Regions from separate parts of the Homo sapiens genome. Here regions 1 and 3 are each linked to region 2. The links are contacts of gene promoters, found by promoter capture Hi-C in blood cells and fetal thymus (Javierre and others, 2016). All regions are on one chromosome and are shown on one strand. Each heading gives the region's core, a stretch centred on a gene start or on the middle of the fragment in contact. The rest is flanking DNA. Distances are from core to core; before and after follow the strand shown.

The links. The method cuts DNA at HindIII sites, captures the fragments that hold promoters and counts their contacts. A CHiCAGO score of 5 or more calls a contact.
Region 1: a fragment that was not itself captured here is called in contact with the fragment with the promoter of SOCS6 in region 2 in 2 of 17 cell types (M0 macrophages and M1 macrophages); the score reaches 6.7 in M0 macrophages.
Region 3: a fragment that was not itself captured here is called in contact with the fragment with the promoter of SOCS6 in region 2 in 3 of 17 cell types (M0 macrophages, M1 macrophages and M2 macrophages); the score reaches 10.0 in M0 macrophages.

Annotation. Positions count from the first base shown.
Region 1 is chr18:70,325,099-70,328,892 of GRCh38, reverse strand. It overlaps SOCS6 (suppressor of cytokine signaling 6), which reads right to left. Exons shown (of 2, transcript NM_004232.4): 2 at 1-3,794. The coding sequence ends at 2,617. Among named protein-coding and RNA genes, the nearest start is that of LINC01909, 8.4 kb to the left of the region's middle. The HindIII fragment of the contact is 2,236 bases long and covers 735-2,970 here.
Region 2 is chr18:70,286,539-70,290,473 of GRCh38, reverse strand. It overlaps SOCS6 (suppressor of cytokine signaling 6), which reads right to left and starts at 1,429. Exons shown (of 2, transcript NM_004232.4): 1 at 1,384-1,429. RefSeq lists a silencer at 694-1,593. The HindIII fragment of the contact is 7,416 bases long and covers 1-2,376 here.
Region 3 is chr18:70,229,218-70,233,296 of GRCh38, reverse strand. No RefSeq gene overlaps it. Among named protein-coding and RNA genes, the nearest start is that of RTTN, 26 kb to the right of the region's middle. The HindIII fragment of the contact is 4,648 bases long and covers 1-4,079 here.

The sequences.
Region 1 (3,794 bases), core at 603-3,102, 38 kb before region 2:
TTTAACCAAATTGTGTCTAGACCAAACTAAATGATGAGTTTTCTCTCTCTCTTTTCCCTGTTTCCACTTTTAACTGGACTGTGTTAGTATCATATAAAGCCAATCTTTCACATTCTGTTGTGCTGCCTACCCCAAATGGTTATCTTTCTACACAAAAGTAGAAAATATCGCAAAACATCTTTCTGCTTGTAAATTTAACTTTTTGGCAAATAGTTTGATTTTATCATTATACTATCAGAATCTAACAATTTCAAACTAGATTAGAATAGGGCATATTAAAGTATATATTATGAATATACAAAAGCGCATCAAAATTTGGCTTTCTGAATTAGAACAGTATCAAGACTGTCCTCCACTAAAACACAAAATACAATTTTAAAAACATTTAGATGAAAATCTCAATAATCTTGACACTAAGCGGGTAGATCTTAAACACATGGCATGATGAGAAAACGAAGGGAATAGGTTATGTCCACATAAGACGGGTTCAGGGCAGTCCAAAGACCTCTGTGCACCATGATCTCACAAGGAGGACATGTAAATGCTTCTGGAGACACGGAGAAGCCATTTCAACATTTATTATTAATACACAGTGACTCTGTGACAAAACCTGCCATCTAATATAGATGCACAGGGACTTTTAACTCACCCTAGATATACTTTAAGTTGTTTTAAAAATAAATAGTTTTGCAAAAAAATAGTTTAAATGTCTTGCATTAATTTGATAACAAGCTTACAACTCTGCAATAGTTCTTAATCCAAATAGCTTATAATGAACACTTATATTATTACAGTATACTCCATATTCCATCTTATTAGGAGAAAACATATGAGAAAATGAGAGTCTTTTTAACAAGGTACAATCAACATCCCACCAAAATTAAGTACCTTTTCCCCTTTAAGTCAAAATACCATAACACCATAATATTATGGCATTGTGCCTTTTCTTGGTAATATCTCAGTTCTGACCCTAAAAAGCAAAGAGAAAAAAGTGAGGATTCAGATATGCTTGAATGACAAAGCCAGTAAGTTTGACCTAAACCTTTACCCTCATGTTTAAAGTGGGTAAGAGACTTTTCCTATCTCTTCCTTTAAGTGACAAAGGAAGAACCATCCCAAATTACATGTTTCATCTGAGATAGAAACATTTTCCTTTAAAGGTGTGTAGCTGAAAATTTTCTGGACAGGGCAATCCCAAAATACTACATCCATTGCAGAACTGTGAAATGAATAAACACTCTGCATTACAAAATAACTAAAAATTATTGAATATAACATCTCTCCCCAACAACCGACTCAAGGAGATAAAATTATTAGCAACGGCAAATTACTTAAGACTTAGCTAAATTTTAAAAACCTATTTTTAAATGGCAGTATATATGATAGACAATATGACTTCCACATTATCTAATATGGTTTAGAATTTTTCTCACATTGTGAGAAAAATTGCTCCACAATTTCCACAATTTTTAAACTAAAGTCATCACGGGTTCTCTTTATAGTGGGGGTAAGGATTGGTCAAATCCAGCACACTTTTATAGTAACTACATAGAAGAAAAATATAAATCCAACTTTAAAACAATGTTTTCTTTCTATTCAAATCAATTTAAAACTTTTTATAAACATTAATGTTGCAAGAGAATCCAGTCCATTTATGAAAATTAGTTGACAATCAAGTTCACCCAAGAAAATGTTGACTAAGCTAAAGAAATCACAGATAAAACATTTTACCAAAAGGATAGGTAACACACAAAAAAATGCTATCACAGGAAGCTATGATCATCTAATATTTCTTTAATAATAATTCTAGTTCCATAGGTTTTCATGTTATGCCAATTTGTACCCGAGTTTAATTACAGAAAAGGCAACAATTTCTAAATTGGTGGTATACATTTCTTTACAATTTTTTAATGTAAGGCCATTTATTAAAATAGACAAACTAGAAGATGAAAACGAAGGCAACAGAAAAATTCAACTTTTCACAACCAAAAGAATTAGCACAACCTTAGAAATAATTTAGAAAAAAGTGTTGTTAAAAGATATGTTGCAGATCTCCGTTCCATTACCCAAGATTATGTCAATTCACGATTCTAAATAAATCTTTTTAAAGTAAGAGATTAAAAACTCATCTTCAGTGTATATGTAAATTCTGTGTTTTATCACACAGGTATGTTTATTCAACACTGTCTTTTGAAAATGGACCATTTAAAAAGACATAGCAATTTCCATTCTGTTAAGTTTCATTCAACTTTACTTAGGGTTGAATACACATGAAATGTGCTTTTAATGCATAAAAATCACAGTGGATAGCAGCAAAGGACTGGGCGGGGGGGGCATTGAGGAGAATTTGATAATTCACATTGTGATTATTCTGCACATTGATGAAACATAATTCACACCTCTAAAACCTCAAGACTTCCCTTTTTTAAAGAACCAAAATAAACCCAAGACACCTTGCTGACACTTCCCCACCCCTAAACAAACTGATGACTCTTTTACACATAAAACTGAAATAGTTATGGCAGCAAAAGATTTTGATGGCAATGAAAGTTTGTAAACTGTATTTCAATCTCTTGTTCTTATTCCCAAAGTGCAAGATGCAGGGTTCTCAATCTTTCAGTAGTGCTTCTCCTGTAAATAATCCTTCATTTTGTTTGGCAAAGGCAGTTTCTGAATTAAGTCTATTCTGGTATACTGACGTATAACAAAACGACACAGGTACTGCAACGAGCGCACCTGCATGAACCGGGACACTGGGTTGGTCAGTCTGACGGGGTAAGTTGCAGATCCAGGCAGCCGAGACCTTGAATAACAAAAAGCTCCATTTTCAGAGTCCCTGATTGAATGCTCAATTAGATCAACTATGGACGTATGTCCTTCCACATCTGGCTGTTCATAAAAGCTAAACCTACCATTTGAGTGCTCAATTCTAGTGTGAAGTGTTTTACCATGGGAGCGAAAGCTCAAGCTTAAAAGGTAACGGTCGTCAGAACTGTCCCGAACAAGAAAAGAACCATCTGGCACGTTTGCTAGCTTCCCTTCTGCCTCCCAACGTGTGATTGGTCCCCAGTACCATCCTTGCTTTGCAAGTTTTTTCAGCTCCTCTGTAAGGCTTGTCACAACCATGGGACCACTACTTTGCACTGAGTCATAAACTCTTGCAACCCCAGGAGCAGAGTTCGGATCAAAATTCAAATGACAGCGCATACTTTCAGCCACGTGGGCTTCTGTGCCAGTGAGTCCACTGAAGTTCCTTTGGATTTGATTATTCTGCATTGGAGGTAGCAATGGTGAGAGTGGAGGGACATCATCGTGACCCGCTCTCGGGCTCTGCAACATGACTCCCGTGGTGCCAATCAACAAGCCATTCACGGACTGATCCACGAAGATCTCTGGGGCGACAACTAGGTCCTGGTCTACCTGACTCTCATCCTCGGGGAAAGCGCGCCCTCCCACTTGAGGAGGAACCGCAGAGACTTCCATGGGAGAAGAGCTGTCCAGACAATAGCTCCGTGATCCTTCCAAAGGATACATCCCCTCATCTAAAGGCACAGTATACTGAATGTAGTCCTGAGGCATAAGTCCAATAACGACAGGCACATGTTCATCCAGGTGAAGATGCAGGTCTCCATTATGAGAAGCCGAGCTCTTCAGTGAATTGGCTTGCTCCTGGCACGTGGTCTCAGACTGGAGGTCGTGGAAATCCTTCCGGACGCCATTCAGGGCTGGACTCGGGCTGGAAGAGTGAACCAAGGCCTTGACTCTCACCTCCATCTTGATGCAGGTCTCCTCGG
Region 2 (3,935 bases), core at 180-2,679:
TTTTTTCCGGTTTTTGTGAAACCTGGTGAGCAATGCCATTCGTGTTTTTAAGTAAGGCTGTCCACAGCATTAAATATTACAATTAAGATTCGTTCATTCAAGTAAGCTAAATGGATTTAATGTTGTGGTAGTTGGTTAAAAACAAGTCAAGATAAATTGCTACCTTCAGTGGTTGAGAAGATGTCAGATATTTTATCTTGAAGTAGAACGTTTACTTTTGTTTGATTCCAAATGTATCTTTATCCCAAGGAACACAGTAAATTTAAAATGTCTCTGGGAGACGTTCAGTGTGTAATTCACGTTATTTCTGTCATTACTGTGTTCTCTGTCCTCATGCACAGTGCATGCTGCCTTATCCGGGCAGACGTTGCAGAAACATTTGTTGAAATGAATTCAACATTATTTATTTTGCTACCGGAAGACTGAGTCCCGCCACATATTCCCACCTGGCCCTTCATTCCAAACAGTGGGGATGGGAACCCCAATTTCACATTCCAACTGAACGTTAAGTTGGCACACACACTACTGCACATATCCCAAGTTTTGTGCCAGGATCTGCCCCTGAGAAACGTCCATAATTCTGCTCCGTGAGCCACAAGGGTGTACCTGAAGTTGCCAACTCCCGAAGCAAACTGAAAATTCAGGCCCGTGTCGGTCCCAGGAGCGGTTTAAATTCCACAATCGTCCGGTCCCTACACCCGGGTGAGTGCGCAGCCGGCCGGCGGCACCTTCAGCCGCAGAGCAGCCCCGGCCTGCACCTCCACCAGCGCCGGCGCGACCTCGCGGTGGGGCGGGGGCGTCCCCGAGTCCCAGCGCCGCGCCCCAGGCCCGCCCTCGCGCCTGCGGCCTCGCCGCGCCCCGACCCCGAGCCCGAGCCCGAGCCCGCGGAGGTCCGAGGAGGGACCCGGCCGGGGCGCAGAGCCGCGCAGGCCCCGCGCCGCTGCCCAGGCCTCGCGGAGCCCCGGCCTCTCCCCGGCGAGCTGCGGGCAACAAAGGCGGCGGCCCAGGCCGGCGCGCCGCGGCCGAAGAGGCCGAGGGGTCGAGAAGAGCCGTCCGCGGCCGCGCAGGCCTCGGCCCTTCAGGGGCCGCCGCGCCCCGGCCCCGGCTTCCCGGTTTCCGCGTCCCCGCTCCCGGGACTGGCCCCGGCCCCCGTTCCCCGGCCCTGGCCCCCGCCCGCGCACCCGCCGAGACGGCGCAGGGCCTCGCGCTGACCCAGACCCGTCGCTGCAGCCCCGCGCCCGGCGGCCTCCCTGGCCCGGCCCGCGCCGGATCCGCCCCCTGCACTCCGAGGCGAAAACCAGCCGTGTCCCGGACCGCGGGCGACCCGGAGGCGGACGGCGAAGCCCTGCCCCTGCCTCCCGCCCGAGCTCCCCGGACGCTTACCCGGAGGCGGCCCGGCTCCGCTTCCTCGCCCAGCGCCGGCGCGACTGCCGCGCTCGCCTTCTCCTCTCGGCAACTCCTCCTCCCGCCTCCTTCCTCCTCCTCCTCCAGGAGGGGCGCGCGGCCGCGGCGCCTCGGCCCGAGCGGGGAGCGGGTGCGGAGGAGCCGAGCGGGCCGCCCCCCGTCCACTACTCGGGCCCGCGGCGCAGGCGGGGCGTCGGGGCGCGCGGGGCTGAGGCCGGGGGCCGCGCGGGGCGGGGCGGGGGCCGGGCACTAAGTGGGGGTTCCGAGGGGAGGGGCGCCGGGCCGGGGTCGTGGGGCGGACGGAGCGCGGAGCCCTGATCCCTTCCCCCACCCCCGCGCCCCTCCGCTGGTGCCTGCAGGAGGCCGCTCCTCCGGCCCCCAGAGTCCCTGTCCTGGTTTTTCCTTTGGTGCTTTCCCTCTGGCGGGGGTGGCCCCGGCTAACGCGGAAAGGAAAGTCTCCTCGTTCCCCGGCCCCGCGGATTTGGCGGCTGCGGTCCCTGTCCCCCTGTGGCGGGCGGTCGGACCCCCGCACTGCCCAGGTCCGCTGGGCTCGCGCGGGGACCCCGGCCTCGTCCCCGCAGGGAGGGGACCCCAGGACAGACGCGCGCGCACGCTGTGCAGAGCCACAAGTGGGGAAACCCTCCCCACACCTCGACTAAATTGTGAAAAATGCTTTTTAAAAAACCAAACATTCCTTGTTTCAAGCCATCCACTTTTCCATTTAGTCGTTTTCAGGGAGGTTTTGTACAAGGAATAGTTGTTTGTGCCGCCGAATTCCAAGGTAGTGTGGTATACAAGTTGCATGTTGGGATCTTGACTAATTTCTTTGGAAACTGGCTGAACATACTACTAATGTATAGCAGTACCACAAAAACTTGATTTTTGTGCATAAGAATCAATAGGAAAATTTGTATTTCTCTTACGATGAAAAGTGGTTAAAAAAATGAATATCATTAGTATTTCAGTAAAGCTTGGGGGGAGATAAATATTAAAATCTAATGAGAATTATTGTGGACTTTAAAAGTTGTGTTTCTTGAATAGTATGGACCTTTTTAAAAGAAAACCGAAAGGACAGAGAAAAAAGGGCTAGAAAAAAAGTCTAAAAAGCTGTTCAGGTATGAGTTGGTACCCGAATTATATCTCAATAAAGTTGTTAGTTACAAAAAAGTTCAAGTCCAGTAATCTTAATTCCTATGTCCAATATACAATCTGGATTTCCCCAAGAAATCTAGATTCATAACAGAAAAGTTGGATCTTTAGGTGATGCAAAGTTGATGTCATGTATCATACACTATCATTGTCATCTTCAGTTTTTACTTGAATTTATTAATAAAATACTACCATTATTGTTACCGTGATTGAAATGCAACACAATTCTCAAATATCTAATTACAGTGATTGGAGAATGTAGGTTGAAATAGAATTGTCAGAGAAGTTAGTGGGAAACACAACAAACAGTAATTAACGGTGGCTCATGCCTGTAATCCCAGCACTTTGGGAGGCCGAGGCGGGCGGATCACAAGATCAGGAGATCGAGACCTGCCTGGCCAACACAGTGAAACCCCATCTCTACTAAAAATACAAAAAGTAGCTGGGCGTGGTGGCAGCTGCCTGTAATCCCAGCTACTCAGGAGGCTGAGGCAGGAGAATCGTTTGAACCCGGGAGGCGGAGGTTGCAGTAAGCCGAGATCGCACCACTGCACTCCAGCCTGGGTGACAGAGCTAGATGCCGTCTCAAAAAAAAAAAAAAGAAAAGAAGCAAACGTTTCAATCCTACTGCCTCGGAGTTCCAGTGTCTCCCTATATTTTCTAAAATGACAACCAGTAGGAGCTGTGCAGCAGGGGGTTAGTGAGCCTTTCACGCAGCAATGGGGCTGTGCAGGATGGGGAAGTGTTGACTCTTTTAGGAGACACTTAAATGTATGGTTAAGACCCTGGGGTTCTGAGTCTGGCAGAGCTGGTGCAGAAGCACAGTTTTGACAGGTCATACAGCTGTGTGACCTCAAACAAGTTTCTCAGTTGGAACCTCAGTTTCTACTTTTGTAAAGGGTGAGTGAGGGGGCTCGATATTAATTATGTCAAATAGTTGTAAGATTACATGAAATAATGCACAAAAACCCCTAGGGGCCTAATCTAGGTAATAAAACTTCATGAGTCCGGCCTTGCATTCAGCTCTTTTGAATATGTCATATCCTTCAATTTTCATATCAATCCTATAAGGTCAGTATTAACATCACCGCCATATTTCTGATGAGGAAACTGAGACTTGCAGTGTGATAGTAGTAATTTACTCTCCCAAAGTCACAGCTACTGTGGGGCAGAGTTGGAATTCAGGCTTAGGCCTCTGTGATTTCAGAATATGAGCCCTTTACCACTACATAGTGATAACAATAACATAGCAACAACTTCAGGGTAGAGATATTAGTGTCTAGATATACTATTAAAATCTCCATGCATGGCTGAATTCCAAACACTTCTTGGCCATAAACATGTGATATCTTCTTGGCTGTCTGCCAATGAACCCTTTTTTC
Region 3 (4,079 bases), core at 509-3,008, 58 kb after region 2:
TTTACCAGGCCTTTTCTCATGCATCAGTCCTTTTGAGTACTGGAAAACAAGGGGAGTTCATATCATTTTCACTCTATGGATGGATATGGAGGCGCAGAGATGTACTGTTTCCCAGGCCAGAGGTCGGATCTTGAATTCAGATCTTCTGACTTCAGTAACTGGAGTGCTGAGGTGCTATCTTGGCTCACTGCAACCTCTCCCTCCCGGGTTCAAGAGATTCTCCTGCCTCAGCCTCCCAAGTAGCTGGGATTACAGATGTCCGCCACCATGTCTGGCTAATTTTTGTATTTTTAGTAGAGACAGGGTTTCACCATGTTGGCCAGGCTGGTCTCGAACTCCTGACCTTGTGATCCACCTGCCTTGGCCTCCCAAAGTGCTGGGATTACAGGCATGAGCCACCACACCTGGATTCTGGTCTTTTTAAATAAGCAGCTGTGCTTCTGACCGGAAGGAATGTTAACAAAGAGAACAACAGTGAATATATGAGTTTCTTTCTTAATCTGTAAATAATTGATGGGGAAGGCAATGAGAGAACGTCTGGAACTTAGATACCTACCTTTGCTGGTCCAAAGGAGTTCAGGACATACCACCCTAAAATATGTCTCTTAGGCATAAGAATTATTTTGAGCTAAAGATACTTGAAAAAGCAGCAGGTGCAAGAGGGTCACTGTGACCCCCCTCTTTCTTCCTGTGAGCAGGAGATAAAATTCTCATGTGGAAGATGCTTTCCCTACACCAGGAGGAAATCCCTATACCAGGAAGAAAGTAAGGTTATTGTTATCAAGGATGGGAAGGCAAAGCCAAGAGAAATCCGTGCAAACAAACCTTGTTCAATTAACTAACCCTTATCTTCCCAGTGACTTCACCACCCAGTTAATTACCCTGCCCCAAGCCCCTTTGCCTTGTCATGTTTTTACAATCTACTACCCTTTGTCCAACTCAGTATTAAATGTTTGACTCTCACTGCTTTGTTGAGTCTTCATTTCCTTTGCCCCTGTGTCATGCAAACCTTTTACTAAATAAATTTGTATGCTTTTCTTCTGTTAATCAGTTTTATGTCAGTTTAATTCTCAGACCTAGCCAAAAACCCTATGATGGTAGAGGGAAAATTTTGTCTCCCCTACAGATCCTTATCTTCTCTGGTGAAGGCCTAAAAACTACCTTAGAGTTTTAAAAACTATCATACCTGCTGGGGACAGTGGCTAATGCCTTTAATCCCAACACTCTTTGAGGCCAAGGTGGAAGGAAAAATTGATTCAGGCCAGGAGGTTGAGACCAGCCTGGGCAACATAGGGAGTCCCTATCTCTACAACAACAGCAACAAAATACCAGATGTGGGCCTACTTTTAGATGAGTTAAAGTTAAAGGAAGTTATGGTTATGAGAAAAAGAATATTTTTATTCTTTTTCCACCTTGGCAATTGATTTTCCTCTCAGACCTACTACTGGTTTTAATTAGAAGAATAATGACAGGCGTGGTACATGATGGTGTGGATTAGACTATTCTCCAATGTGAAAGGAATGGGGCATTTTAATTTGATGTTATTCACGAGGGGAAGAAGTCCTAAATAAGTTAAAATAAGTAAACACACTTACCTTCTTTTATAGTATGCTGTATGTGTTAGTCTGTTTTCATGCTGTTGATGAAGACATACCCAAGACTGGGCAATTTCCAAGAGAAAAAGATTTAGTGGACTTACAGTTCCACATGGCTGGGGAAGCCTCACAATCATGGTGGAAGGCAAGGAGTAACAAAGAGTAACACCTCTTACATGGATGGCAGCAGGCAAAGAGAGCTTGTGCAGAGAAACTCCCATTTTTAAAATGATCAGATCTCATGAGACTCATTCACTATCATGAGAACAGTCCAGGAAAGACTCACCCCCATAATTCAATCACTTCCAACTAGGTCCCTTCCACGACTTGTGGGAGTTATAATTCAAGATGATATTTGGGTGGGGACACAGCCAAACCATATCAATATGGAAAGATAACTCTTATGTAAAATATCCACAGACCAACCTTTGGGAACCACCAACAAAGAGAAGGCATGAGGAGATCTGGTTTCTAGTCCTAGCTCTGCCACTAATTCTATGACCTAAAGGAGTCACTTCTTGCTGGATCTCAGGTTCTTCTTGTAAGACATGGAAGGTACTGGAAAAGTACCTTCTGTGTCTCAAATGTGTCCTAATGCCCAAAGGCATTTAGTTCTGAAATTTTAGGCTCTTCTATTCCTGCAGGAATCTTCCGCAATCTGCACCAGCCCTCACTATGCCCTTACTACCCCCTGCCAGTTGTTAAGCATTTTCTAGCCATCACTGGTTAGAAGTGATTTGCTGATTTTTGTACTGACTCCCTGCTATGGACTGAATTGTGTCCTCCACAAAATTCTTATGTTGAAACCCTAACCCCCAATGTGGCTGTATGTGGAATAAGGACGTAATTAAAGTTAAAGGAGGTTATAAGGCTGGAACACTGATTTGATTGGATCAGTGTCTTTGTAGGAAGAGACCCTAGAGAGCTCACTCTCTCTGCTGTGTGAGGACACAGTGAAAAGGTGGCAATCCATAAAACAGCTCCCATCGGAAACCAAATTGGCTGGCACTTTCATCTTGGACTTCTAGCCTCCAGAACTTGAGAAATGAATTTCTGTTGTTTAAGCCACCCAGCCTACGGTATTTTGTTATGTCAGCCAGATCAAACTAAGACACTCCCTAAATACTAGAAGTATGCGTCTGTGGGGATAGGTGGGCAAAAGAGAGAGAGTTGGAGATGATTTATTTGTCTTAGGGCTCCCAGCAGAACACTGAGCAGATGACCAAAAGGAGATGAATAGTAACAGTGAAACCACCTTTGCAAAAGTGCGACTGAGACAGTGAAATAGGTCCAATTTAAATGACTCCATCTTGCCTCTAACCTCCAAGCCATCCTTGTTCATTCCTGGGCATGGGCTGAGCTAACTTTGGGAGGAACTTAGTTTATAGTTTAAAAAAAAGACGGTAACAGCCCTTTCCCAAAACAAACCTCCTTCTTGCCTGGGGACTAGGGCCCTAACATTGGCCACAAGATTAGAAATTATGGTTTAGGAGTCACGCGGCTGGAGGCTACCAGAGTCTGCCCCTCCCTTAACTGCTCCTAAGATCAGTGCTCGAGATGTTTTGCAGACCCTGCACTTGATGGATCAACCAGCACCATCCAGATGGAGAAACGGGCACATCTGACTCGTGACCCCTACCCAGGAACTGACAGTGCAAGAAGACTGTGATGCCCCATGATTTCATCTCCGACCCAACCAATCAGCACTCCCCGACTCACTGCCCCTCACTTCCTACCAAATTGTCTTTAAAAACTCTGATCCTCAAATGCTCAGGGAGACTGATTTCAGTAGTGATAAAACTCCAGTCTCCTGCACAGCCAGCTCTGAGTGAATTTCTCGTTCTCTATTGCAATTCCCGTCTTGAGAAATCAGCTCTGTCTAGGCAGTGGGTAAGGTGAACCCACTGGGCAGTTACAACAATGCAATAGAAATGCTGTTTCCCTTCTTCCTGACTTGTTTGTTTGTTTGTTTTGAGACAGGATCTTTCTCTGTTGCCCAGGCTGGACTGCAGTGGCGGGATCATGGCTCACTGCAGCCTCAACCTCCTGGGCTCAAGTGATCCTCTCACCTTTGCCTCCCAAGTAGCTGGGACCACAGGCATGCACCATGGTTATTATTATTATTTTGGTAGAGATGGGGGTCTCCCTATGGCTGGTCTCAAACTCCTGCGCTCAAGCAATCCTCCCACCTTCACCTCCTAAAGTGTTGTGATTATAGGAGTGAGCCACTGTGCCCGGCCCTCCCTGTCATTTAACATATATATATTTACACACACACACACACACACACACACACACACACACACACACACACATCTTAAATATTTTTCTAGTCTTGATTGCCAGGGCAAACTTAGAGTAAATTTACAAATATCAACCTCTCCCTTGTCATCGTAACACACTTTCTTTTATTCATTTATTTATTCATTAACACATTCTGCTTTGGGTCAGGTGCCAGTGGTTGACACTGAGGATACATCTAAA